Linked DNA regions of Homo sapiens: regions 2, 3, 4, 5, 6 and 7 are each linked to region 1. Evidence: promoter capture Hi-C in 16 types of primary human blood cells and fetal thymus (Javierre and others, 2016). All regions are on one chromosome and are shown on one strand. The core of a region is centred on a gene start or on the middle of the fragment in contact, and the rest is flanking DNA. Distances in the headings are between cores, read along the strand shown.

What was found. Contacts are between HindIII fragments. The CHiCAGO score rates a contact against its expected background, and 5 or more counts as called.
Region 2: a fragment that was not itself captured here is called in contact with the fragment with the promoter of DIMT1 in region 1 in 1 of 17 cell types (naive CD8 T cells); the score reaches 5.6 in naive CD8 T cells.
Region 3: a fragment that was not itself captured here is called in contact with the fragment with the promoter of DIMT1 in region 1 in 1 of 17 cell types (naive CD8 T cells); the score reaches 5.0 in naive CD8 T cells.
Region 4: a fragment that was not itself captured here is called in contact with the fragment with the promoter of DIMT1 in region 1 in 2 of 17 cell types (non-activated CD4 T cells and naive CD8 T cells); the score reaches 8.4 in non-activated CD4 T cells.
Region 5: a fragment that was not itself captured here is called in contact with the fragment with the promoter of DIMT1 in region 1 in 1 of 17 cell types (fetal thymus); the score reaches 6.2 in fetal thymus.
Region 6: a fragment that was not itself captured here is called in contact with the fragment with the promoter of DIMT1 in region 1 in 2 of 17 cell types (total CD8 T cells and naive CD8 T cells); the score reaches 9.6 in total CD8 T cells.
Region 7: a contact is called between a fragment that was not itself captured here and the fragment with the promoter of DIMT1 in region 1, in 2 of 17 cell types (naive CD4 T cells and activated CD4 T cells). The highest score is 9.0, in naive CD4 T cells.

Annotation. Positions count from the first base shown.
Region 1 is chr5:62,402,442-62,406,289 of GRCh38, forward strand. It overlaps DIMT1 (DIM1 rRNA methyltransferase and ribosome maturation factor), which reads right to left and starts at 1,464. Exons shown (of 12, transcript NM_014473.4): 1 at 1,253-1,464; 2 at 832-905. The coding sequence starts at 1,331. RefSeq lists an enhancer at 1,385-1,674. The HindIII fragment of the contact is 1,140 bases long and covers 664-1,803 here.
Region 2 is chr5:67,205,975-67,209,822 of GRCh38, forward strand. No RefSeq gene overlaps it. Among named protein-coding and RNA genes, the nearest start is that of CD180, 11 kb to the left of the region's middle. RefSeq lists an enhancer at 176-1,375. The HindIII fragment of the contact is 3,384 bases long and covers 1-3,307 here.
Region 3 is chr5:66,160,916-66,164,763 of GRCh38, forward strand. It overlaps SREK1 (splicing regulatory glutamic acid and lysine rich protein 1), which reads left to right. Exons shown (of 12, transcript NM_001077199.3): 4 at 1,194-1,358; 5 at 1,499-1,677; 6 at 2,877-3,007. Among named protein-coding and RNA genes, the nearest start is that of SREK1, 19 kb to the left of the region's middle. The HindIII fragment of the contact is 2,857 bases long and covers 689-3,545 here.
Region 4 is chr5:66,144,383-66,148,230 of GRCh38, forward strand. SREK1 (splicing regulatory glutamic acid and lysine rich protein 1) reads left to right here. Exons shown (of 12, transcript NM_001077199.3): 1 at 1-155. Among named protein-coding and RNA genes, the nearest start is that of SREK1, 2.0 kb to the left of the region's middle. RefSeq lists enhancers at 1-228, 489-548, 609-658. The HindIII fragment of the contact is 2,585 bases long and covers 786-3,370 here.
Region 5 is chr5:65,927,007-65,930,854 of GRCh38, forward strand. All of the region lies in intron 1 of ERBIN (erbb2 interacting protein), which reads left to right. Among named protein-coding and RNA genes, the nearest start is that of ERBIN, 2.4 kb to the left of the region's middle. The HindIII fragment of the contact is 296 bases long and covers 1,811-2,106 here.
Region 6 is chr5:59,040,065-59,043,912 of GRCh38, forward strand. All of the region lies in intron 5 of PDE4D (phosphodiesterase 4D), which reads right to left. It overlaps PDE4D-AS1 (PDE4D antisense RNA 1), which reads left to right. Exons shown (of 2, transcript NR_198970.1): 1 at 1-6. Among named protein-coding and RNA genes, the nearest start is that of PDE4D-AS1, 2.2 kb to the left of the region's middle. The HindIII fragment of the contact is 1,101 bases long and covers 1,100-2,200 here.
Region 7 is chr5:59,123,062-59,126,909 of GRCh38, forward strand. The region is part of intron 5 of PDE4D (phosphodiesterase 4D); the gene reads right to left. Among named protein-coding and RNA genes, the nearest start is that of PDE4D-AS1, 85 kb to the left of the region's middle. RefSeq lists an enhancer at 3,714-3,848. The HindIII fragment of the contact is 1,024 bases long and covers 1,296-2,319 here.

The DNA of each region.
Region 1 (3,848 bases), core at 214-2,713:
TATCAACAAGTTCAAATGGGAAAGGACTGTACGTGTTGGGCGAAGATTTTTCAATTTTCAACCCATGTATGGTTTCAAGGATGCAGAAGAGCAGAAACTGTACACAAAATTGAATGTCTGCACACAGCTCTAATATTCTACGGCCATAGCTTTCATCAGATGCTCAAAGGAAACTATGAGCTAAAAAGGTTAAAATAGTACATGACCCTTCTTTCTTTTTTTCTCAGTTTTCAAATGACACGAAGCCTGACAAGATCCTTTAACTATGTAATGCTCTTTCTACAGCTCCAGGATGCTTTCCTTGCTTTTAACCATAAGTGTAATCTGCACCGTGTGTATTTCACTTCCTAACACCCAATCATCCATAACCATAAGAGAACATCAATAACTCAGAAAGCAGTAATACTCCAAGCAATTTATATGTGGTACTAGCATACACCAAATAATTTATATGTAGTACTATATGTTTTTCTGGGGAACAAACTTTCTAATGTGTAGTTTAGACATAAATAGATGGAGTACATAAAAACTAAGTGATCAAAAAGGTGATTAGAAATAGAAGAATAATTATCTTGAACAAATACAAAGGTCCAGCTATAAAGTAGATAATCCACAAAAAGACACAGAATTGGGAACCAGGAGAAACTCAGACCCACAAAATGAAGCTTATCATGCAGAAGACAGCCCAAGAATCCTAGACAATTATTTGATTCATTCAACAAATATTTACAGAGCATCTAATTTACGGCAGGCAGACTTTCTGCGCTTATGTATTCATAGGAATAAAATTAATAAACCAACAACTCTCTCCCTTTCCTCTTCCACACCCACCTTATCGATAATGCTGTTAATAATGAGAGGATTTTTCAAAATGTGCTGCCCAATCCCCGTGTTGAACATGAGTCCTGTAAGAAAATACGAAACAGCATTAATTTTCCTACTGAGATTAGATATTAGGCAGTACCAGAGAAGAAAGCTGCATGGGTATGGGGAAGATTTCTGCGCCAACCAGGGCCACGAAACGTCACGCCAGGACTGACAAACTCTTTATAAGTTCATCCTCCAGCTGGAAAGGAAGTCAGCGGCGACGCGCAGGGCCTGCGGCCGAGTCGGGGACCCACCCCTGCCTTCCGCGCTCACGGGAGCGCGTCCTGACCGGCCTCTGCCGATCAGGTCTTGGTCCGCACCCCAGGCTAGGTCCTGCCGGAAGACCTGACCCGACCGACCCCAGCTTCCTCGCGGGGATCCGCACCTCCAGCGCTCTTCAGCTCCCGGCGCTGCTCCTGCCGCCCGCGGCGGCGGCCGATGGCCCCCGACTTGACCTTCGGCATCTCGGCAGAAAGCGGGCCCACAGGCCCGGGACGTCAAGGAGGACCAAAGAGGGCTAGCGTGAGAAAGCCACCACGTGGGGATCGCCGCCACGCGCCGCCCGCACCACTCTGGCCCAAGCGCCGGAGGGGCAAGGGTCCGCCCCCTCCCGTACGCTCTGAGCTCCTCCTCCAGAAAAAGGGCGGACCTTGGAGCCCACTGACTGCCGGGAATTGGAGTCACAGAGGGAGGAAGGCCGAACCGCGGGAGCCTACAGATCCCAGAAGACACCGCGCTACCGAGGACTGCAGTCTGGAGTTGGAGCCCTTGTCCCAACCAGGGCTGGATAAGAAGGTGTTGGTGTGGTGCTCTCGGTGTTGCGAAGGCTGTTTAAGTTATATGATGAGGTTAAGCCTATGGATGTTTTAGTAGCCTAGGTTCTGGGATCGCTGAGGTCCAAAGAAGTATTCACGTGCCTCGCTCCTGTTTTCCTGAAGCTTGTGGGGGTGGGAAACCCGGGATTTGGGGATGAGCTTGCTCTTTTGTGGGAATGCATTTTTTGCTGCTTGCCCTGGGGAAAAGAACTGCGAGAATGGAATTAACGTCTGGTTTCGCTAGGGCTACTGGTTGCTTCTACTAAGAATAGAAGAGCCGGGCGCGGAGGCTCACGCCTGTAATCCCAGCACTCTGGGAGGCAGAGGCGGGCGGATCACAAGGTCAGGAGATCGAGACCATCCTGGCTAACACGGGGAAACCCCGTCTCTACTAAAAATACAAAAAATTAGCCGGGCGTGGTGGTGGGCGCCTGTAGTCTCAGCTACTTGGGAGACTGAGGCAGGAGAGTGGCGTGAACCCAGGAGGCGGAGGTTGCAGTGAGCCGAGATCGCGCTACTGCACTCCAGCCTGGGCGGCAGAGCGAGACTCCGTCTCAAAAAAAAAAAAAAAAAAAAAGGAATAGAAGAATAATTATCTTAAACAGATACAAAGCTCCAGCTACAAAGTAGATAATCCACAAAAAGACAGAATTGAGAACCAGGAGAAACTCAGACCCACAGAATGAAGCTTATCGTGCAGAAGACAGCCCGTGAATCCTAGAAAATTATTTGATTCATTTAACAAATAATTCAACAAATTCCTTTTGTGCCTCATCATTCACTCCGTAAACATTTATTGAGCTCCAACTGTGTATCAAACACTGCTAGGGATTCTAAGTAAGAAACTTATTTCAAAGTGTATTATATTGACAGAGATGGACAGAAACTCCAAAACGCTGTAAATACGATAACGTATTGGTCGTTGTGACAGGACAGTGTACCTGACTATAAACTCCGTGTGTACCAGGGCCATAATATCCACATCTGTTTTGCCAGCCAGTGTAATGGCTCTTTTAAATTTTTCTGTGTGTATTCTGTTTGGTTGAAGAAATAGCTTCTTCCTGTCATTACTAAAGCTAACTCTCTTTTGAGCAATTCATTGTGTACATTCCCAAACCTTGGTCTTAGGCCCTTCTTTCTTTGATGTAGTTCTAAGTCAGAAAAAAAATCTCGTATACCCTAGTAGCATCTTCAAGTATATGTTTCATTTCATCAATCATTGTTATTCCACAATTCTAAAGAGTACACTGTGCTAGGCACTTCCAAATGTTAATAGGATGGACATGGCCTGGAGAGGTGGCTCATGCCTGTAATCCCAGCACTTTGAGAGGCCAAGGCGAGCGGATCACTTGAGCTGAGAAGTTTGAGATCAACCTGGGCAACAAAGTGAGACCCCGTCTCTACAAAAAATACAAAAATTAGCCAGGCGTGGTGGTGCAGGCCTGTAGTCTCAGCTACTCGGGAAGCTGAGGTGGGAGCCTCACTTGAGCCCGAGAATTTGTAGTGAGCCAAGATTGCACCAACCTGGGCGACAGCATGATACCCTGTTTAAAAAAAAAAAATTAACATGACACAAAACCCTGTGTGTGATTTGTTATTGTTGTTGTTGTTGGGTTTTTTGGTTTTGTTTTTTTGAGACGGTCTCACTCTGTCACCCAGGCTGGAGTGCAGCGGCATGATCTCAGCTCACTGCAACCTCCGCCTGCCGGGCTCAAGCGATGCTCTCACCTCAGCCTCCCGAGTAGCTGAGACGACAGACATGAATCATCTTGTCCAGCTAATTTTTGTAATTTTTGTAGAGGCGGGGTCTCACTTTGTTCCCCAGGCTGATCTCAAACTTCTCAGCTCAAGTGATCTGCCTGCTTTGGCCTCTAGGTTGCATTTCTTCTGTGAAATAAAAGGCAAGTTTTTCTGTAGAGAAGGAGCTGTGGAGGTGGTAGGACAAGGGGCATGAGTGCGGAGAAGGTTTGAAGATCCTTTATGCGCAATGGGAGAGGAAGATTAGAGGGAACTCAAGAAGACATGGCATGTCTTCCAGCTAAATGTGGAGCCCAGTATCTCCAATGTGTACTGCTGTGTAACCACAGCCTGGAGACAAGAGCAGAGAAGGCAAAATTGTTCTTTTGATTCATCAATGAATGACCACTATTGCTCCCTAGAATAGCA
Region 2 (3,848 bases), core at 366-2,865, 4.8 Mb after region 1:
CCTTCCCATTTGTTCCTCATTCACCAGAACTTTGTTTCTGTGGGATCATCATCTTTCTTGGTCTGTGGAAGGCCCAGGTAGCACCCATTTGTTTTCTTCCCTCAGTGTCTCGTTGGGGCCCACTCATCTGAGTCCTTGGGGTTGCTCAGATGCCTGATCATCTCAGCAGCCAGCACCATCAAAGAGGAAACCTGCCTGAGATCCCGGCTCTGAGCTTCTTCCAGTTCAGGGTCTGGGACCTAGTGTCCAGCTGAGGCACCGTGGGATGTGTTTGTAGGAGGTAAGTCAGGGAGTGGTGGGCTCCAGCCCCCTGAGATGTGACATGCCCCACAGCCCTGACATTGGCCAATGTGGTAGGCAGTTCACCTCTGAGGTAGGGCAAATCTAGCTTTTTGACTTTTTCCCCAAATGAGATGCAAGATATGGAGCCTATGGAGAAGAAAATAAGAAGCTAAGAACTGGTGTGTCTTGGGTTTTCAACCAGAGAAAAAATCCAGTTTATATGGCAGAATAAGCATATACCATGATCAGACCAGCCATAAACAGACATCAAGGTAGCGAAAAAGTCCTTACAGAGAGATGCCATCAGCAATGGCCAAGTATGGTGATATTCTAACATTCTAGTTTCAAATTCTAGCATAGTTTTTCTCGTTGGAACATAACTACTGTAGTTCCTGTTGCAGTCTATAATTAATGAACAAACAAACAAAAAAAGAAGTAAAAAGAGGAAATTGTAAAATTTCTGTTCCCACCTTCTAAATATAGTTTAATTTGCTTTAAACAAATCTACCATAACACTTTTAATTTGTAGAACTGATAAACATTAATTTATCAAAGGACTCATATTATTTGTGACTGTGCTCACAGACTAGAGTTCCTTGTAGAATTTCTTTCAACTGTAACAAACGTGGTGCAAGTTTTTTGATGACTTGATTTTTAAAAATTTAACTACACATATCTTGGCTGTATAAAGCGAGGCTGACTTGTAACTTTGAAACATGCACATTAAATAGTCAAGAGTCAATAAAGAAACTGAACAAATGACAAAAAATGTTTGCTTCAAGTGAGTCAGTCATGACAAAACTACTCTCAGAATTGATTTGGAGATAGCCTAGGCTGTGGTTTTTCAGAGAAACCTGTACAGCTGGGTGGGGCACTGCGGTTTGCTAGTTTCTGGAGAGGTCAAAATGTGAAGTCAAAATGGTGTGCTGATACGGGAAATGACTGAGCTCCATTGCAATTCAGACCTATGACAAGCGGTTAAGGCACCTGCTATCCCCAGGCCTCAAGCTCTGTGTGGGTGCAGTGGAGCTGGATTCTTGAAGAGCTGGTTGTTTTCCAGGGCAGGAGATGGCCTGCTCCCAATCCAGAATTCTAACAAGAAAATAGCCTGGCCATGGCCCACACTTCCCAAATAGATGCACCTTTTTTTTTTTTGGATTGTCATCTTTTAAAAAAAAATACATATACTTTCATCAGCAGAATTGAATTTGGAAGGTTGCTGATGTTTTTTAAATTAATAGAATATGAAGCATTTACCATTTTCATAAGAAAGCTCATTAAAATTTACCTTTTATCCCCCTCTTGTCTGAGAAATGAGTATCTAGCACATAGTGCTTACTATTGCCAGGTACTGTTCTAAGTATTTTAGAGATGCAAACTAATGTAATCCTATGCCTAGACTCTGAGTAGTCTTTTCTAGGCAAAGAAACACAAGGAAGCTAAGTAAATTGCCCAAGGTCATTCACTGTATGGATGGGTTGGGGCTTGAACCTAGGGAGTCTGGCCCCAGAGATCAAACAAGAGAAAGAAGGCATCAGGGAAGCCCGAAGAAGGGAAAAAAAACCCACCAAAACAACCAGTTTTGCCCAATGCTTTGAAGAAAACTTTTAATCCTGTCTCCTTCCTTGCCCATGAAAAATGTCCATTTAGTCATAGTCGGAGTCAAGGGCAGAGCGAGGTGGGAGAGTGCCAGCCCGATGCTCTGTGACCCCATCCCAGCCTCGTCCCCTAGGCTTTCTCTTAGGCAGTGCTCTCCCAGCCTCTGTCATCTCCTTAAACATGGGTCTCCTTGCCTGGGCGAACCCTGCACATCCTTCTGAGCAGCACTGCCCAGTAGAAATGGGAGCCACATATGCAACTGTAAGTTTTCTAGTAGCCCACCTTAGAAAGAAAAAAAAAACCACGAAACAAATCTGTCATTGCTTTCTTCTTCCACATTTTGCTTTTTAAACTTCTGTTTTAAGTTTTTTACTTTAAAAAAATTCCCAAAAAGGAGACAGAAAACAGCTCCTGGAAGAATTTACAACCAACTGCATCGGGGTCTGGGAAACTGGACCAGGGTGGGGATGAGTGGATGGGAAGGGGTCCCCTTTAGTCACTGCGGCCTCACTGGAAGACCAAGGGAGCAGGGATTCTTCAGTCAAAAGGGAGGCAGGGAAGAGAAGTGGGAGGAGGTGGGAGTTGGGTGGTTGGAGGAGATGAACAGAAAATAAAATGTCGTTGTCTGGTTAAATCCAGAGAAAAATACCTGGCCCTGTAAGGAGGGAGGATGCCCTTCCAAGGGGATGGAAGGGGTCTGGAGGGAAGCAGGGTAGGGAGGCCACCCTGAGACCCTGGGCAGGCCCTGGTGGAGGAAGCGGGCAGGGGCCTCCGGGACTGTGGGACACACTAGCTATTGTGTTCTTGTGCCATCACCCTGTGTGTTCCCAGAGCAGCTCCTTGCTTCATTTTGCTTTCTCTTAATAAATGACATGGCAGTCCTCCCTGCCCCAAAGTGAAAAATTAATTAATTTCAGGAATATATTTTATTTAACTCAATATATCAAAATATTATTGCAATCATATAAAATCAATGTAACTGATGTGAAATATTAATGAGATGTTCACCTTCTAACTTTATACTATGTCTTCAAAATCCAGGGCTTGTTTTACATTTCCAGCACATCTCAATTTTGGCCCTATATTTTCATTGGAAATATTTGATCCGTATTTAGATTTCATAAAATTCATAGCCAAAAAACTAGATTGACATAACCAAGTTGTTCCAGGCACACTTAAGAGTTTTTCAACCACTGAATCGAGTAATAATGTTTAATGTTTAAACAAGTTAAAATGAAATAAAATTCAATATTCAGTTTCTCAGTCTACATTTCAAGTGCTCAAGAGGCACATATGAACTGGAGAGAAATGAAACCAAAAAAACACGGGCTAGTGAGTTCAGATTAAACAGCCACCTGAAATCATCATTGACTGATTACTCTTCTTGCTGGCTACCTCGGCACAGCAAACTGCAGGCAGGCCTGGAAGCTTGGGTTTTTGGCATGGAGTGTTGTCAGGTTCATTCCTACACGGTAGGCAGTGGCAGGAGTTATTTTGCAAATGTTAACCCTGCCACCTAGTGACCACTTTCTGAATGTCACTTGAAGATTACCACCTGAAAATTCGTGTTGACCTCAGTCTTGCCGCCCTTCCAGACTTTCTCCTGCTTGGAGGCCCCATGTGGCACGGTGCTGCTGATGTGTCATAACTGTTTTGGGGCTGCGTTAGCGATCCCTGGAGGATATGGACTGAGCTGTATCTCCCTTTGTTTTCCCACAACAGTAAGGTGCTTGGAGATTAAGGAGCACGTCTCAGGAGCATCCTATGTGCCGAGGAGATGGCTTCTGTCTCCCCAAGGGTTAGAGTTCCCAATTTCTCTTGTGTGACTCAATTGTAGCACCTGAATCTTCTGTTTGTTAATATGTGTCCCTCCTCCATTGAACTGCGAAATCTGTGAGGTCAGGGACAATGTCTTTCTTATGTTTGAGCCCCATCCCCTAGTTTGGTATCTGTCTGACAACTGTCAG
Region 3 (3,848 bases), core at 867-3,366, 3.8 Mb after region 1:
TTACATTTCTTCTAGTTTACATTCATATTAAAAATAATACGTTCCTTAATGCTGAAAGTAAAAACTGAATTTAGTGATGCTATAGAAAGATCATTCAAAGTTTTTTTGAAGGTTTTTGCCCTTTTCCTACCATGGCATAAGTAAGGGCTCAATATTTTAGATATATTTTCTTAGGTAAACTTTCAGCATGATAATAATAACCCATTTCTTAGGGTTGATATGAGGATTAAGTTACTACCTCAGTTAAATTCGATGCTATGATAATTGTTGACTGTTAGGAACTCATACTCATACTCATCTGTGTTTTTCAATGACCAAGGTACAGTTGATTCTCATTCTTTGTGAATTCTGTATTTTTGAATTCACTTAGTAAGTAAAATTTTTTTGAAATCCCCACATCAACAGTTGGAGCACTTTTGTGGTCGTTCGTGGACATACACAGAGTGGTGAAAAATTGGGGTTTGTCTATTTGCACGGAGGTCGAAATCTTCTTGTTTTGGCACTCAGGCAGTAAACAAGCACGCAGTCTGTTTAGTGCTATGTTCTTTGAATTGTTGTGCTTTTTGTTGGTGATTTCACTGTTAAGATGGGCCCACAAGTGTAGTGCCAAACTGCTGTGTAGTGTTCCTAAGTACAGGGAGATTGTGAAGTGCCTCATGGAGAAAATATTAAATACATGTATTAGATAAGCTTCATTCAGGCCTGAATTGTAGCGCTGCTGGCTGTAAGTTCAGTGTTAATGAATCGACAATATATAACAGCTAAGGTGTCTTTAAACAGAAGAACATATAAAATAAGGTTAAATATTTTACTAGTTAATGTAAATGTGACCAGAGGCTTGTAGGAACTTCACCCTGTATTTTCCCTAGGAATAATGGTTCAATATTCAATAATTCATTGTTCACGGAAACTATAGAACATAGCTATGTCAGGTAATGAGAAACAGCCTGTCTTTTAGGGTCAAGTTTAAAAGTGGCTAAAATATCCAGACAGTAAAATATATTTCAAATTACATTTAAAACTAATGTGACCTTACTTTAATAACTCAGACATATATATGACTGAAAGTTCGGAGTCCCTAGTCTCCTTTCATTCTTGTTGAGTTAGTTCATTCTTTTCAAGATTAGAGAATGGTATCTTTGGATACTAATAGAAAATATGTGTTCTGTGTGTTTTTTTTCTTCTTTCGATAGCTTGGTGTTTCACTTAGCAGTTTGGGAGCTATACCAGCAGCAGCACTAGACCCCAACATTGCAACACTTGGAGAGATACCACAGCCACCACTTATGGGAAACGTGGATCCTTCCAAAATAGATGAAATTAGGAGAACGGTTTATGTTGGAAATCTGAATTCCCAGGTAACTAATTAAAGAAGAAACAAAGCAGCAGTAGCCCTTATTCTTTTTCTCTTCTTAAAAATCATATCAGTGGATACAGTAATATTTATCTGATTTTTTAAATGGATATATTTTATCAAAGTGTCACTTTGTTCCCTTAGACAACGACAGCTGATCAACTACTTGAATTTTTTAAACAAGTTGGAGAAGTGAAGTTTGTGCGGATGGCAGGTGATGAGACTCAGCCAACTCGGTTTGCTTTTGTGGAATTTGCAGACCAAAATTCTGTACCAAGGGCCCTTGCTTTTAATGGAGTTATGTTTGGAGACAGGCCACTGAAGTAAGAAATCCTAAACAAAGAAATTTTAATGATTTTGAAACATTTAAAGTATTTTTGATGTAATGAAGGCTTTTTTTTTCTTTTTAATAGTAATTGGCAATTTGTGGAAAGGAAGACTTTGTGTTAAGTATAAATGAAATACATGAGATACTTACCATTTTAGTCTTTAAATTCCTTTATTTAGAGACATTTATTTTCTCATTTTCTGTTTTCTAGGGTCTAATTCAGTGTTAACATTATTTATATACCCTGCATAACGGTTGTAGGTCTTTTTCCATAAACTTTAATAGTCAGGTTGGTTTTACATTATGACACTAGACTAATTGAGCAACTTAACAGGTGGGTTGAACTACAGTACTTCCAGTAACAACTGTGGTAAATTCAAAATCTACAGAAGGAAATTATAAGTGCCCAGAAATGTTTTAAACCAGAAATTTTGACTTTTGAGGTTTGCTTACATCCTTGTTTGTAAAACGTTGATAATGGCCTTCGAGATACTCCAGACCAGAAATTCTATTTCATGCAGATTGTTGAGGCATATATAGTTTTGCTTGAATTTCATAGATTGCTTTAGTTATACAATTTGATCAGGATTTTTCTGTTAAGGATAAGTTTTTAGTGGGTACTTGTCTTCCCAGTGTGGAAGGGGTAAAGCAAGACACATAATATCCATTCATGTGCATCAGAGAAGTCACTCTTACCTAGTAGAGGAAGAATTTTTTCAGATGCCTTGCACATTCAAAGCTATGTCTAACTCAGCCATGGTTCAGCGTTGGTTAAAATGGTGTACATAATATGATGATATACAGGTAGCTTACCCTTCTTCTAGAGTGTACAGGATATCAGTAAGATCTTTTGATTTGAAAATAGAAATGATTCATTTTCATATTGGTATCAACATTTTAATTTATTTTAATTCTAAGCTATGGAAAAGCACTTCATCTAGTCTGTTTGAATTAAGTTAGCTAGGGTTCAATTTTTCTTTTCTCCCTGCTTTTGGTTGTATTCGCAAGGAATGATAGGAAGTGGGGATGAGAGATTAATCATGGTTTTGAGGTTGCTTTTGGTTATTCTGTATATCATTCTTACGTGCTTCTGAGATGTCCTCACGTTTATAAATATGTGTATCATATAAATGTTTGTTTCATGTTTTATAAAATGTGGTGTGTATTTGTGATATGCTAATATTTTTAATTTAGAATAAATCACTCCAACAATGCAATAGTAAAACCCCCTGAGATGACACCTCAGGCTGCAGCTAAGGAGTTAGAAGAAGTAATGAAGCGAGTACGAGAAGCTCAGTCATTTATCTCAGCAGCTATTGAACCAGGTAAGTACATAACGTTGTTACATAGGTCATAGTTTAAAGATCATAGACTCTTAGAACTGGAAGGAATTTTAGAAATCATCTTGTTCAGTCACTTCATTTTACAAACAAGAAGACTGAAACTCAAGAAATAGTAAGTAGCATACTCATGTCAAAGAACAACTTAGCCCATATTTTATCTCTTTCTGTGATACTGAATTGAGGCACTTTAGTCTGAGCTAATCAGCTCTGTATTTTCATAGCAAAATCAGTGCTCACAAGTGATTTGCTGAAAGCAAAAATGTTATTGCAAGGCTAAAAAGAGTACATATATTTAAAACGTTACGACTCAGCAGGTTTACTTTTCCTCAACATTTTAATTTTAGAAGTAGAGAAGAGAGCCCGTGATTTAGAAAAAAATACAGATACTGTATTTTAGTAAGGTAAAAGAACATCTATTTAAACTTTTGTGTTGCTAATGAAAATAATTAAAAAACCCATTCTAAAAACATCTAGGTGGTTTACATTTGAGCAGATTTTCTAAATCAACACTTAGAATTTAAGCTTCAAATTCTAGCAGAATAAGTGGAGAAAGGACTTAAAATCACTGTCACAGGAATTACAGACATGTTGTAATCGTACGTTACGGCAGCAACAAAATATTACGAACAGCTGTTTATAATCATCTGGTTTATATGTACTGCTGCAGGGTGGCTGCACTCAACGAGTTTATGCAATGACTTTCTTGGATGTTTCTGAAGGAGGAGGATGTACAGAGAGTAGGCCCCTTGCACTATATGTGGTACATTCCACTTGTGCCTGATTATTAACTGGGATCTTTAATTGTTCTGAGCTTACACTGCAA
Region 4 (3,848 bases), core at 828-3,327, 3.7 Mb after region 1:
AGCGGCGGCGGCTTCGGTTTGGGCTTAGGCTTCGGCCTCACCCCCACGTCGGTGATTCAGGTGACGAATCTGTCGTCGGCGGTGACCAGCGAGCAGATGCGGACGCTTTTTTCCTTCCTAGGAGAAATCGAGGAGCTGCGGCTCTACCCCCCGGAGTAAGTGCTGGAGCTCGGCTGGGGGAGGGGCGCGGGCGCCATAGAGACCTCGGGAGCCGAGGCGTGGAGGAGAGCGCGGACGCGGGCGCGCGGTGCATGTCACGTGATCGCGCCGGCTTACCTTGGTGCCCATATTTGATTAGGGCACCCGGGTTCCGCCGTCCTGCTCTCCTTAGTCGGATTTGGGGGGTTAACTACTGCACGGAGCCCTTACCAAGGATTTAGAATGGTTGCCCTTTCTGTGCCTCCGGGACTTGTGTTCGCTGCTGGGTCTTCGAATTCCGTGCCCCCACCCTCTTATTTCCCCCCGAACTTAAGATGGCCGCAGGTGGGCCCGGAACAGCCCTCATGGCAAACGTCTCAGAGCGTTTTTCCACTCTGAAAATCGCGGAGACCGCGCCTGAGCCACAGTCCAGTTTTTAAGGCCTTGGTGTCAGGCCGTTTTGCTGACGAGAAAGCCTGCTGCTGGTGACAAGATGGAACTGGGGCTGTGTTTGTTTCCCAGGACGGTCGCACAAACTTAGCATTTTGGTTTATCTAACCGAGCGCATCCATGTTCCCAAAGATCATGTCTGTTAGCCCTTTTGACAGCAGATTAAATTTTCCTCCTGAAAGGTCACACTGTCCCAAAGCTTTCAGAAAAAGTGTAAGTCGGTGCAGGGTTATCCCTCCCGTATACATTTAAAGTCCAGATCTTGGCTGGCATTCACAGCTCGCGGCCACTTCCCAGATAGTGTATTTTGGAATGGTAAAATTTCCCTCGTACGATATTATTTAGAAAACTCGCAAGGGGTTTGTAGGTTGTTCACATTCTTGCACACAAACTTTTTTTCTTTTTTAATGGTAGATCTTACAGTATTAAGATCCTCCGTTTTTTGTTCATTATATCAAAATCCTTTGAGGGAAGGGGTAATTGTTACCCAAGATTTATTTCTTTAAAAAAATTTTGATTTATTTCCTAGTGATGCATTTAGACCTATTTTTCTTTAGTTTTCTATCTCAGGTTATAACAGTGCTGTTGCATAACTATATAAAAGTTGTGTGGATATTTAAAATTTACTTTTTAAGTTTTTCTTCTCTGCTTTTTGTTTTGGAATATTTCATGCATACAGAAAAGTTGAAAGAGTAATACATTGAACATCCATGTTCCTTTTACGAGCATTTTGTCTGTTTTTGGCTACAGTTGATTATTAAAATTTCCCCAGTTATTTTAATAATGCTTTTTTGTCTGCTTTTGATCTAGTATGTAATTAGATAACACTGTCTCCCTTGAATATGCCAAGTAATCCATGTATTAATAGTTATCTCCTTTAATCTAGGACAGTCCCGTCCCCTTTTAAAGATTCTAAAGTCGTGACATTGATATTTTGTTTTGTAGTTCATTTTGTCTTGTAATATGACTCATAATCTGAGTTTATATAGATGAGATATATAGATGAGGTATATAGAGATATGTGTATATATATATCTTTATATTCGTGACGAGATTCAGGTAATACATTTTTGACGAGAATACTGCATAAGTGCACGCACGTACATTTTGATTGATTAACCGTGGCATTATTGCTTTAATTATCTTAACTTTTGGAAATGCTTTCAGCCATCTCAATTTAAGTTCTCAGAACATTTCTTAATAGTTGAGAATAATTGAGAATTGTTTGGGGGAGTGCCGTATCCTGCAGGCATTGGAATCAATCAGTAAAATACTTTGTACATGAACCTTTGTAAATCTTGCTTTCAAGGCTGTGGTAATAAGGTATCTCATAGGTAGAAGAAATATATTGGAGAATGTTCTTCATTATCAACATAATATTTATTTGGTTGAAACCTGGGTTTGGGTGACAACACATTGCCATAACTGACAGTAATGGGCCACTTTTTTGAAATCAGATGTTATTACTTGGAATTTAAAAGTCAAAGAGAATAAAAAGTTCTTCACTTAAACATATGGAAGATTACGGTAGTGTATTTCACAAACTGTAACACATTAAGCAAAATTGTTGCATACGTGTAATATATATAGGCCAGGCAAAATCCTTAACTAGTTTTTCCCTAAGTGCAATACTAGATCCCTCATTCATGTTTTGCAGCAATACTGACATGCTTTATTCACAGGTTTTCTGCTTCGTAATGAAGTTGTCATTGCCTGGTCCTTATATTAGAAGACGTGTTTGCAAATTTGGACTGAAATGGATACAAAATGCAATAGTAGTAGTTGTATTGAAAATATATTGTTTTGCAGTGTCACATAAATTATTTTATGACATCTTTAGAGTTGAGTAGAAATTTAAATTGTTTTAAAATTGGAAATATATTTATTTTCAAATACATATTTCCAGGTATATTGGAAATACATTAATAGAATGTGAAAATAGTTTCTCATTAAAATTTTATGATTGAGCCAGGTGTGGTGGTGTGCACCTATAGTCCTAGCTACTCAGGAGGCTGAGGTGGGAGAACAGCTTGAGCCCAGGAGTTTGATTCCAACCTGAGTAACATATTGAGACCCCTATCTCTTAAAAAAAAATGACTTAAATGACTTAAGTTGCTAATATGAAAATTCAGATTTTAAATTTAATTCTTTTGGCATGATGCAGTGGTTGAGTTTCATCTTTATCTTTTAAACGTTAAGAATTTTTTAAGGCTAGGGAATTCTTGTGAACATTCACTGTAAGCATTAAGAATTCTTATTTGTAGTTTGTCATCCTTTTTTTGTGCTGCCAGTTGATAAATATGTAGAATTACTATTAACTTTTTGCACAATAAATCAATCTCACAGCTTGTGAAACTTTCTTACACAAGTAAGAAATCCTTGTTGTTTTTTCAGTAAATTTTTCATTGAGGTTTAATGTACCTACAGAGAAGTGCACAGGTCGTAAGCGCAGGTTGATGAATCTTTACAAAGTAAACATACCTATATAACCAGCACACAGTCAGGATTATCTGCACCCTGTAAGTTCCCCGTGACCCCCTTCAAGTAACTAAAACCTGAAGGGTAAGCCTACCCTGATTTGTAACACTAGACATTTTTCCTGTGTTGATTTTTTTTGCTTGTTGATTTCCGTCACTTCTCTGGTCTTCTAAAGTTCTAAGAAAGAATGGAAAAATCTGTCAACTACTTAAGTTTATTTAGTTAAAAAAAATGTAACCACTAAAGCCACTTTATAGAAAATAGAGAAAAGGAAACAGCACTTGTGATCCCACCACTCTATCAAAGCTTCTCTCCATTTCCCTGTAGTCCTTTTCACATGCGTTAATAAATATTGGACATATTACCTCATTGGTTTTAAAAATAATTGTATAGTGCTATCATTATGTAATATATGTAATATAGCGTAATCAAAGGAATCACACTGTTATTTTACTTTTTTCACTTTGTCATAAGCATTTTCCATATTGCTGTCTTATTTATAGTAATATTTAGAGATTAGTAATTTCTGAGTGTATTGTGTGTTTTTGAAATTCTATTGTTGGATATTTTGATTGCTTTTTTTGGTATTACAAATTAGTGGATTTTAGCTAGAAATTGGGAGGTGTGTCTTTTTGATTGTCAACAATGATTAGAGGGCCTGTTGGCATTTAGTGGGTAAATGTTAGCAACTTATAAGTAGTCTTAAACAGGATGAATTGTGCTAATCCATAGGGCCACTGAAGCCCAGTGAAGAAACCCTGTTATAAATAATGCACCAACTA
Region 5 (3,848 bases), core at 709-3,208, 3.5 Mb after region 1:
CCATCTGGACTTTGAATTTTTTGGAAGAGGTTGTAAGAATGCGGTGGGACGAAAAGTTTTTAGTAATCCGAAGAACGATTGCCTTTGTTCAGCACAGGGGCCAGAAGTTTTGGCTTTCTGGAACGTATAGAGTGTATATTAAGTTGCTCAGCCAGGCACCTTCTGTTTGGGAAGAAAGTTTGGTCGCTGCAGTGAGTGATTTGCTGTTATTGAGATGGCTGCCGCGTTTGTTTATACTCATACCGATTATATTGGCGCTTGCGTTAATTGTATATAGAGGTATTTATTTTTATTTTTTTATTTCCAACCCTGATCAGTATATTTAGTTAGATTTTAGAAACCAAAAAATCTTGCCATTCTTAGTTGTTTTTCAGGGTGAGTAATATATTTCTTTAGTTGTGTGTAGTGTGTGTTTTTCAGACGTTTAGCGCCGTATAACTTGTTTAATTAATTGAAAGCAAGGATCGACTAGGCTTTTCTTGTAACTGATCCATTACGAAGAAAAAAGGAGTAAGGACTAAGAATAGGGAGAGATAATTAAACAACATTAACAACCTGTAAGACGTTTAATAGGACTTCTGTACAGTTCAGAACAGACGATGGGAGGGGAAGTAAAACGCTTAAAACGATTTTCAAGGGAATCACAGTGATTGTGATAAAAAGCTGTGCTTTTCGAGTAGTATGGTCTTTACATTTTTGTGTTGTCCCAAATGTTTTTGGTCGGTTCTGCATAAATAGTGATAGGTTCTGCCTACATCTGTGGGGGCAGGATTCATGAAGCATGGCAGACATTCCACCAGTCAGAGCTATGAACACTTCTGAACCAATGGGGACTAGTTTTGATAGCAGTAAACCCAAAGTTTTTTTCAGTGGTGTTTTAGTCTTTTTCTGTTTACTTTTTTTCCCGGTATTTTTGCGGTACAGGGAGGTGAAATACAATACTGTACTTTTGAATATATATTGAATAAATTTGGTAATCCTGTTGGTAGGTATATCCTAAATATATATTGATGTTTAGATTGCCTATGCTGTCTCACGTAATGACCGGAAACCCGAGGAGAGAGTTGATTTTCTTTAGTTCAAAGAGAAAAAATAAGTTTTAAAGATCAGGATCAAATTATTTCACAATTTGTTCTTTGCTACTTCAGCTTCATTAAGTACATCTCCAAAGGCAGTCCTTTATTTATTACTGTAGTTTTGATTTTTTTTTTCCTCCCCGGGGCATGGTCTCAGGAGATTCTTTTTTTTTTTCATTGTTGGTAAGATTTGTGAACCATGGAATAATTCTTGTTAAGTCAAACTAGCTTTATCAAAGAATTTAAAGTGCATAACTCATCTACTTTATGATTTTGGAACGTATCATTAGGCTGCAAAAGAGGTTATTCTTGGGCATCTGAAAGAGGTGAACAAAATAAATGGCATTGAACTTCAGTTTCCTTATATGGCTTATACTTGGCTTCAAAAGCAACAAAACCTTAATAGAGCAAGTCCCTTACAGAGAATTATCGCTTTATGAAGATGGTTATTTATTAGTAAATTTTGTATAAAAAAAGTATTGTAGCACTTGAAAATGACTATTTAAGCCTCTATTTTTAGATTTAGTTCTTGATTTTTTTTCTCAGGAGAAGAGTAGTATGTTTCGATGCAGACAACACGTTTTATGAAGTGAGGTGTTCACCTTTGTGTTTCTTTTTTTTCTCCTCAACAAGGCATAATTTACTTCGTAGTTTTCTTGGAATTCTGTTAGTTTATCACCGAATTAACTTAAATTTTAGGTTTTATACTATTGTGAAACTATAAGTATTTTCGAAGCTTTGTTTAAACTGTGACAAAGGTTTGAAAAGAGGTTAATAGAGGAGTCATCCGTTAAAATATTTTTAAATGGCTTCAAAATTTGGATATTCTTCTAGTATGGTGTGGATTTTCAAAGATTAAATTGGCAAATAGAGAGTACTTCCAAAGTCTATATTGCACAAAATACACACTTAAAGGCTCTGTTTATTGAAGGTAATCATGAATTTTCAGGACTTCAACTGATTCAAGTAGTACTGTTACGAGGTCTCCTTGCCATTTGAGATCAAACTATTGTAAACTTTATGTATAAAAAGCTTACAGAGGTACAAACATGGAAACCAAATTTTTATTGTATGCTGTTTCTTAATGAAGTGATAACTATAGATACATTAACATATATCATTGGCAAATCTCAAAAATCGATTATTTTACACATTGTTGGTATTGCACTATTAGTAGTAAATAATACCCTTTAAGAAATAGTTAAAAGTTTCAGAAAATAGGTGTATATTTCAAAATTACTTATTTGAAATAATTGCTTACGGATAATACGATTTAGACTTTAAGCTGCTTTTGTTTTGGAAATAGATTATGGCAGTACTTACAGAGTATTTGGGATTATGCAGAATTTTAGTGATGCTGGGTAGCAGTTTCTTTTTTATTTTTCGTAATTGCTGCTTATCCAGATTCTCCTTACATACCCTACTTGGCTGCTTGCATTTTGACTCTTTGCCTTGCTCATTCATTTCTTGAATTTGTTACATGCTTGCTTCCGTTTTCTTTTTCTGGGAATACATCTCTATTATAAACCTCTAAAGATGTCTTTGTCTTTTCCTCTTTTTTTTTTTTTTTTTTTTCGAGATGGAGTCTTGCTCTGTTGCCTAGGCTGGAGTGCAGTGGCACAATCTCGACTCACCACAACCTCCACCTCCCGGGTTCCAGCGATTCTCCTGCTTCAGCCTCCCAAGTAGCTGGGATTACAAGCGCACATCATCATGCCTAGCTAATTTTTGTATTTTTAGTAGAGACAGGTTTTGCCATGTTGGCCAGGCTGGTCTCGAACTCCCGACCTCAGGTGATCTGCCCACCTTGGCCTACCGAAGTGCTGGGATTACAGGTGTGAGCCACTGAGCCCGGCCTACTGCTAACTCCCATTTTTCAGATTCACTTTTTAGCTGTCTCTTCTTAGGTTTCCTAATTGTAAAAAAGAAACTTAGCTGCTATTCAGCTTTCTCTTCTGATTCCCTTAGCTTCCTATATTTATAGTTAGCTTCATTTACCTAGCCTTATTTTCTCTGTGTTCAGTTGGTCGTTCTTAATTATATTTTGCCATTTCCCTCTTTTCCAAACTGTTAGTCTATGTTTATCACCTCAAAAAACTGTTCAAAACATGCAGTGGAAAAAGTTTATCTGATCTTATTTTATTAGCCCATTTAATTCTGAATATCCCCTTTGCATTTCAACTAAGTGTACATGCTGGTATTTTAACTTTATATTCATCAGTATATTGCTTTGTTTATTTTGAGATGGAGTCTTGCTCTGTCGCCCAGGCTGGAGTGCAGTGGCAAGATTTTGGCCCACTGCAAGCTGCGCCTCCCCCAGGTTCACGCCATTCTCCTGCCTCAGCCTCCCGAGTAGCTGGGACTAGAGGCGCCCGCCACTGTGCCCGGCTAATTTTTTTGTATTTTTAGTAGAGACGCGGTTTCACCGTGTTAGCCAGGATGGTCTTTATCTCCTGACCTCGTGATCTGCCCACCTCGGCCTCTCAAAGTGCTGGGATTACAGGCATGAGCCACCGCTCCCGGCCATTGTTTGTTTTATACTTTGTTTTCTCAGTTTTCCTTTTTCTCTTTAGTGTTCTTAAAATTGACTGTTAAGATAATACCAGGTTGTTATTTATTCTTATGTATTAAGACTTTGTAACCCTCTCTACCTTCTTGTTTTATTATACTTTTGGCCTCTTAAAACATACAGATATATTTCTCTGTTCCTTCTTCTCTGTACCTTCCTCTTCTGTCCTACCTTTCAAGTTAGATGTCTTCTCTGACACAGAA
Region 6 (3,848 bases), core at 400-2,899, 3.4 Mb before region 1:
AACAAGGTTATTTAGGACCCTCAAGGTTTCTGAGGGTTTAAGTTTTAGGGTTTCTGGGGGTTCGTTTCTAAAGGCTTAGGATTCACCTACTTCAAGGAGGCAGGGTTGTGGGAATTAAGACCGCATTCTTTTTCTACCCAGCCCAGTCCCTACTAAGTACCAGACTTCTAAATGTTGGGGCGGACAGAAACAAGCAAACAAAATATACAATGTTGTGGGGTCGGAACGCTTTATAATTCACAAATTTGACAATAGGCTGCATTTTCATATGCCGAATTGCCTAAGAGTTCTCTTAAAGGAACAGCAATGTGAAAGAACCACATGGTAAGGAGAATTTACGCATGTCCTGCATACTACTCCTTTCCCCTGTGAATTGCATAAGACCTAGATGATCTTGGGCCAAGGAAGAAAATCTGGAAGGGTGTTTCTACCCACCATGTGCAGAGTACACTACAATTTTGAGAAAACGGAAAGACCATATTCAAAGGCATACAGAAAAGCCTGTTCTGTTTACAAAGGCTGACCCAGGGCACCAGGGACACTGTCCCTAAGCAGATCAGTTGTGGGAGAACTTTTCTACATTAGCATGCAATAAGCAAACCATTCATAGTGAGGAGAAGTCAAACTCCCAAGGGTCCATTTGATAAAACTTTGTCATTGTCGAGTGGAAAGAAGATACTGAGAAACTTACACTAAGTGGTGGGATCCCTTGTCTTTGTCTTTGAATCTACAGGTATTGGAGAAGAAATTCTGCCCTTGAAATTTAGACTCCATAAATTAACATGGCACAACAAATAAAGTTCATGGACTGAATTTAGGCTCCTGGGATTTTTGAGATAGCTTTTTATGTGAACTTTGTAAAAGTTAGAGTAACTTTTAAAGTAGTTGTTACATGTGCCACGTGGCTTATTGTTATCAAGAATACTTGAACTATTTACTGTTCACTTTGAGTACTCTAGGTTAAAATTTGCCTCTTTTTTGTTCTACTTCCTCCACCCCGCAGTCTATGTAAATATATACTTTAGATGGACAAACAACTGCCTAAACCTTGCCAGGTGAATTAAAGTTTCAGATTGAAGCTTTTTTTTCCCCCTTAACAAGCTTAAAGATATTAATAATTTTAAATGGTAAATATAAAATACCTGCTCTGTATAGCTTCCCCAATTCTAAGAATGTAAAAAATATTACATGCTTGTTATAAAAATTGAAGCATTACACACAAATATAGGAAGTCCATTGTAACCCCACACCCTAAAGATCACAAACAATACTTTCGCCTATGGCTCTAACACAATCATTTTCATTTTACTGAATAACTTCCATATGCAAGTATAGCATCACCTAGTTGCCATGGTAGTGCATCTACTATATGGTTTGGTTTTGATATTTTCCTCTCTCTCTCATTCCCATAATATAGGAATGTAGGAAATTTTAAGAGGACATTGACTTGTTTTATGATCATTTGAGCTGTCCATAGTTAGCCTATCCAGTGGATTAAAGATGCATAACCATTGTGTCTGGGATTTGTTCAGTGCCATCTTTTCAATCATTGGTTACAATGAAGCTGGGAGTCCCCTCTGAGGTTCGGCTTTCTGTGGCTCCTCTCCCCTGCACTCCAACTTTCTCAAAGCCTGAGCCTCAAGTGATTTCCCAGTAGCTAAGTAAACTGCCCCCTTCCTCCATCTTCACCAAGTTCCCAAAGCTGTTCAGACTCAGGCTTCAAATCTAACAGGATGTGGCTCCACACATTATATTTCAGTTGTTATTTTTTAATGTGGAAAATAATTCAGGAAAGTTTTGGCTAATGCTTCAAGACATCATGCACTTTATACACAGGATTTGTTCTTAAGAAGGTAGTATAGTGACAGGAGGAACAATTTACTTCAGAATATCCATTTTATGTCCAAGCCATGCACCAGCCACTTTTGACAGACAGGATTTGAGTATGATGATAAAATGGGGTAAGCATATATTTTAAGTTCTAACATCTGTATAAATAAGAAAAATGAAAAATCACTGGAACACATCTACATGCTAGTGAGAAAATAATTACTAACAGAGTAAAGTTTGCTCTGTGAAACTGTTGCTCAAATAAAGAATTATTCTTGATATTAGCATAGAGCTGAGAATATTGCTTTTTTCCAAATTCCTAGGTGAGTAGGCAATATAGCTAGCCACGATTTTTCAGGATCATTTGTAAAGCTTCACTTTTAGGAATTTTAACCCCAAGTGTTCTAAGACATCAAGTAACTGACCTTTTCATCCCGCCGAACAAACCTCAAAGTGGAGTTGCCAACTATCCCACAGGAAATTGAGTCACCACACCAAGCAACACACCTAAATGTCGACAGCTAGCAGGACAAAAACAGTGAGCCAGTTTAATTTTGGCTTTTACCAAGAACACATACTGCATTCATTAATAAAATACTTCCCCTCAACCCCTGCCAGAGTAGTATACACTGTGGCTCTCCTTAAAAATACATGAAAACTCTTTAACTGCACCAAATCTTGCTAAGTCAAGGAACTAAACAGAGAAAAACACCCAAGCAAAAACTATTGGCTAAACTCCCTAAAGGCTGGGAGAGGGCTATGGAACAGCAACTGAGAAATAAATTGAGCCTTGAAGGCCCCTGCTACAACAGCATCAGTTTTCTTCAAGGCACCTTTGAACTATGTAACACCCGCATTCTGCTGAGGCTCTTCTGTGAACAAACAGTCCTCAATTCTTGCGGGCCAGCACTTGGCTTCTGTCACAGTGATATGCTTAGAGGTTCCCCTGACACATGGCCTGAAACTGTGCCAGGGGCTCCAGGAGAAGATGCTGAAGAAGCAGCTTCCTTTTGAAAAAGGAAAAAAGTAATCACCTCAGAGCCACAGCAGTTAGCTAGAGGTTGAGGTCATTTTTTGTGAAATGTTCAGTCCATTACTCTTACCCACAACTCACAGTGATGTTGACCATTGAGGTAAAAGGATCCACTGTACGGGATGTGTAACTATGTGGACATTAGTTTCTTTGCCAACACTTGAAGGTCTGCTAAAGGACTGTATCGGCTTGTCATAATTCCTAGATAGACCTATTGGTATACATGAAGAGAACAAGTCCAAAAAATACCACTTATTTTGGACACTATTTGTATGCCCTTAATTTAAAAAAAAAATACAAATTATAACAGCTGAGGTCGGGCACAGTGGCTCACGCCTGTAATCCCAGCACTTTGGGAGGCCAAGGCGGGCAGATCATGAAGTCAAGAGATCAAGACCATCCTGGCTAACACAGTGAAACCTTGGCTCTACTAAAAATACAAAATACTAGCCGTGCATGGTGGCGGGCGCCTGTAGTCCCAGCTACTCGGGAGGCTGAGGCAGGAGAATGGCGTGAACCCGGCAGGCAGAGGTTGCAGTAAGCTGAGATTGGGCCACTGCACTCCAACCTGGACAACAGCAGAAGACTCCGACTCAAAAAAACAAAAAAAATTATAACAACTGATCCAGATTTTTTTTATTATTACACTTTAAGTTCTAGGGTACATGTGCACAATGTGCAGGTTAGTTTCATATGTATACATGTGCCATGTTGGTGTGCTGCACCCATTAACTCCTCATTTACATTAGGTATATCTCCTAATGCTATCCCTCCCCCTTCCCCCCACCCCACAGCAGGCCCCGGTGTGTGATGTTCCCCTTCCTATGTCCATGTGTTCGCATTGTTCAATTCCCACCTATGAGTGAGAACATGCGGTATTTGGTTTTTTGTCCTTGTGATAGTTTGCTGAGAATGATGGTTTCCAATTTCATCCATGTTCCTACAAAGGACATGAACTCATCCTTTTTCATGGCTGCATAGTATT
Region 7 (3,848 bases), core at 558-3,057, 3.3 Mb before region 1:
AGTCTGTCAATTTTCCAGATTCCTATCTCCCAAAGCCGGTAGATGTCTCCTTTGATCCAGTAGCTAAGGCATGGTTGAACTGATCATATTTATACCGAATTTCCAAAGATCAATCAACGAGAATTCTCGGGTCTATGTGCTTGTTTATTTAGCCCTGCCTCTATGCCTGAACTTCATCTGGAAGTCACACATAGTCTTCTTTCTGTCTTCAGCCATGAGCAATAGTGTATTTGCACTAAAAACGTTTCCATGGCATCTTCTTCTTTATTTAATTTTCTATCAGCAGACCCTTCTTTGATACTTCCTTTTTCTGCCCATTCTGGTAATTCAGTTGACTAAAACACAAAACTCTTCCCAGGTAATCTTTGTTTCCCTTTCATAATCTGCCGTTTATACATCTACTTAATTCATAATTTTGCTAAACATCTCCAATTATTTGTTCCTACATTGTTATCTTGCCATCAAAATATTGATTTTAATACCTGTGACCCCTCCAGTCCATTTAAAATATTAATTACCAAGTTTCCTGCCTTGGATATTGGAGTTCTTAATACTAACATCAAACCAAATGTTTTATCCTCATTTCTAAAGCTCTACTCCATTGCAGACACCGTGACATCTAACACTTAGCAGATAGAAAAAAAGTATGCCATTGTAAATCTGAAAACTTCTGGGCTTGCATGTCAGAGACTGGAAGTGGTTTGTTTGAAAGGAGCTTATACTGAGGCAGCATAGCATAACACAGTGGTTAAAAGCAAGTCTGTGAAAGTGAGAAAGACTGGGGTCCAAATCTTGGCTCTAACACTTCTAAGCTACGTGACTCTGGGCAAGTTGCTTAAATTCCCTGAGCACCAGCTTTCTCATCTGTATGATGTAAAAAAAAGAGCAGCACTGTTTAGTAAACATGGTCTTGGCTTTATACCACTTCCTAATATTTCTACAACTGTCAAGTCAATCAACATGTTACCTTAGAAACTGTGGAAAAGGTATAACCTTTGGAAAATGTAATCAGGGGGGAACAACTTTTCCTAGCCCAAGTCCAGCTTCTGGTTCTGCCCTGACAGGTATCTGTAAGTTATAATGTTTTACTAGGTCTTCATTTCCTTACTTATAAACTGAGGGAGGTTGAGTGAGGAGTTCTATTTGTTTGCATTTTGGCTCTGCAATTCAGGGGTTTTATTTGACACGTGAGGACCAAGGAGTAGAAAGGAGCAATCAAGTGCAGTGGTTTGGTCAAGATCACATAAAAAGTCTTGCTGTAAAACCAGGAGCTAGTCCTAAACTGCTCACCAGCAAGCTTGATTTATACTCGAGTAGACCATATTCTCTTGCTCCTCCAGCTGCAGCTCCACTCCTCATTTATCTTAGCCCAGGCTGACTCTAAGCTGCTTTCACTTCTACCTCACTGCATTTCGCCCTGATAATTTTGTAGCTTACCTAGCCTCCCTCTTTGAGATCCCTTCTTAAAAGGGTCATTCTATTAACCTACCCATATCAGTTACTTTACTACTGCTGATCTATCGCTACCTGTCAATTCATGGGAATTACAGGGTGCACTGGGACAAGAGTAAAATGATCCAACAAACATAATGTTGCATTTAAAAAAATAAGCTAAAAGATACTGATGACTTTTTATAACTACAACATATTCGTTTGTGAATAAGAACATATATAGTAAAAAGATGAAAATGTGAACAGGTTGACTATTTCCTAAATTTATGGCAGAGGTTGTTCTGGAGAGGATGGAAGAAAAATGAGGCTGGCAGTGATGGTGGGGAAATGCAACCTCCAAAATTATCTATCTATATATTTTTATTAAAAACACCCACAGTAATTATGGCAAATGTTAATGTTTGTTTGTTCTAGGTTTTGGATACATTTAAGATCTCTTGCTTTCTGGGTACATTTCTTTTCTTTTCTTTTCTTTTTTTTTCAAATTAATTCCAAAAGACTTATATCTGCTACATGAAGAACGAAGCAAGTTCAGCTCTCTTGCTGAAATGTTCAAATGCTGAGGCAAGGCCTGTACTACAAATTTGTGTAACCAAAACCACAGTGCTCTCAATGCTCCTAGTGTTGCATTACAGCAGTTAGAAGAGATTGAGCTATTTTGTTTCCATGGCTCATTAAGCTAGAGTTAGACTGGTGTCCATAATCAAATTTACTGCACTTACCCTTGCTTCTTCCCTATGAAGTACAGCCAGACCTTAGGGAAAATCTCAACTATTCCAGGTCCATGGTAATTTGGTCCACGAAAGAAATTAACACACCTGAAAAGGATTAAATTATTTTTCCTTTTCAAAATGATCCTCTTCCTTAAGCTTCCTCTGTCAATTGACTGCCAACCTTATTTGCTAATTCCCATCCCTCATCGGGCTTCCTAGCACTTCCTGCTGCAAATTAGTGTGCAGTGAACCTGAGCCTGCTCTCCAAAACACATCCAGACTCTTGGGGCTTTCTGGGCTTCCGCTAGGGTGCCTGGTGCAAAGGGGGCCTAAATCAATCAATTAAGGCCTGGGAAGATTCCAGGCAAGAGGAAGGGATATCTTGGGGGACAAAAGGAATGTGTAGGTGGGAAGAAGGGAGAAAGTCTTTCTTCGTTTTTCACTGCAGGAAATGATCTGGACAGAGAGCAATTCGAATCATAGACAGGGAGGGTTGGGCAGGATGCGATGGGGGAGCGAATGACAGACACAAGTGACAGGAACAACTTAGGGAGACAGGTCAGAAAACATCTAATCTAGGCACATAGCAGAAATAGTGAAGGGAATTGAAACAGTTGTTCTGTATTTTGTTCACAGTGTTAAAGTCAAAGTCAGTGCTTTTTAACCTCATGGGATGGAGCGGGGGAGGGGGCACAAGGAGCCTTGTGTGAAGGCTCTGGCTCTGCTTATTGATCCCCCAAATACAATAATACATCCTCACAATCATAAATTTGAGAGCAAGGGGCTCTGATCCTGTGATATACAATCTAGGCCCTTATTGGATCCTGGAACTGATTTTCAGAATCCTTTATTCTTTTAAGTACAATTGTAAAAAAAAAAAAAGAGAGAGAGAGAGAGAGAGAGAAAGCAAGGAAGAAAGGAAAAAAGGAAGGGAAGAAGGAAGGAAGGAAAAAAGGAAGAAAGGAAAGAAGGGTTCCATTTATAAACCTCAGACAAAACAAAAATGAAAGCAAAAGAGAACAAAAAATAGCCAATACGACCCAAGTTACAAATTTACTTGTATCCTTTCAGAGGATAACCCAAATTCCTGCAAGACAATTAGCCATCTTTCTTTCGATTATTACAGTAAGCAAGACGGGTTAAGAGTATATAGTAAATGTGCTTTGCTAAACTCCTTCTCCCTTTATTGACTCTATCACAAGAAGCACACTTAATATAATTTTTACAATTTTTTAAAGAACAAATAGGAAAGAGGAGAAGGTTGTACTTTAGCTACCTTTGTGTATTTGAAAGGAATGCTGTTCAGGGCTTCTTCCTTTTCAAAAAGAAACAGGTCTTTGAAAACGAAGAATCATTACTGTGCATATCTCTCGAGGGCTGCTCCTCTAGTATCAGTCCATTTGAAATAGGAGTTTCACATAATTCAATTTATTAAACCCACATTTCCTGCCAGATTTTGCTTTATGTGCCTATGTCCTTTTGTTTCCCGGCTAACATTTCCACATCTCGGAAATCATTCTTTCTAGTATAACTGAAGAATATGGATATTAAAATCAGATCAGCAAAAGATTTTTATGGACTTGGAAAGCTGCCCATTAATGCCGTAAAATAAAGCGTGTTATACAGCTGATATCATCAGTTCTACTCTATGTTGTTTTCATATTCCTGGCGGTGGGTGGAGAG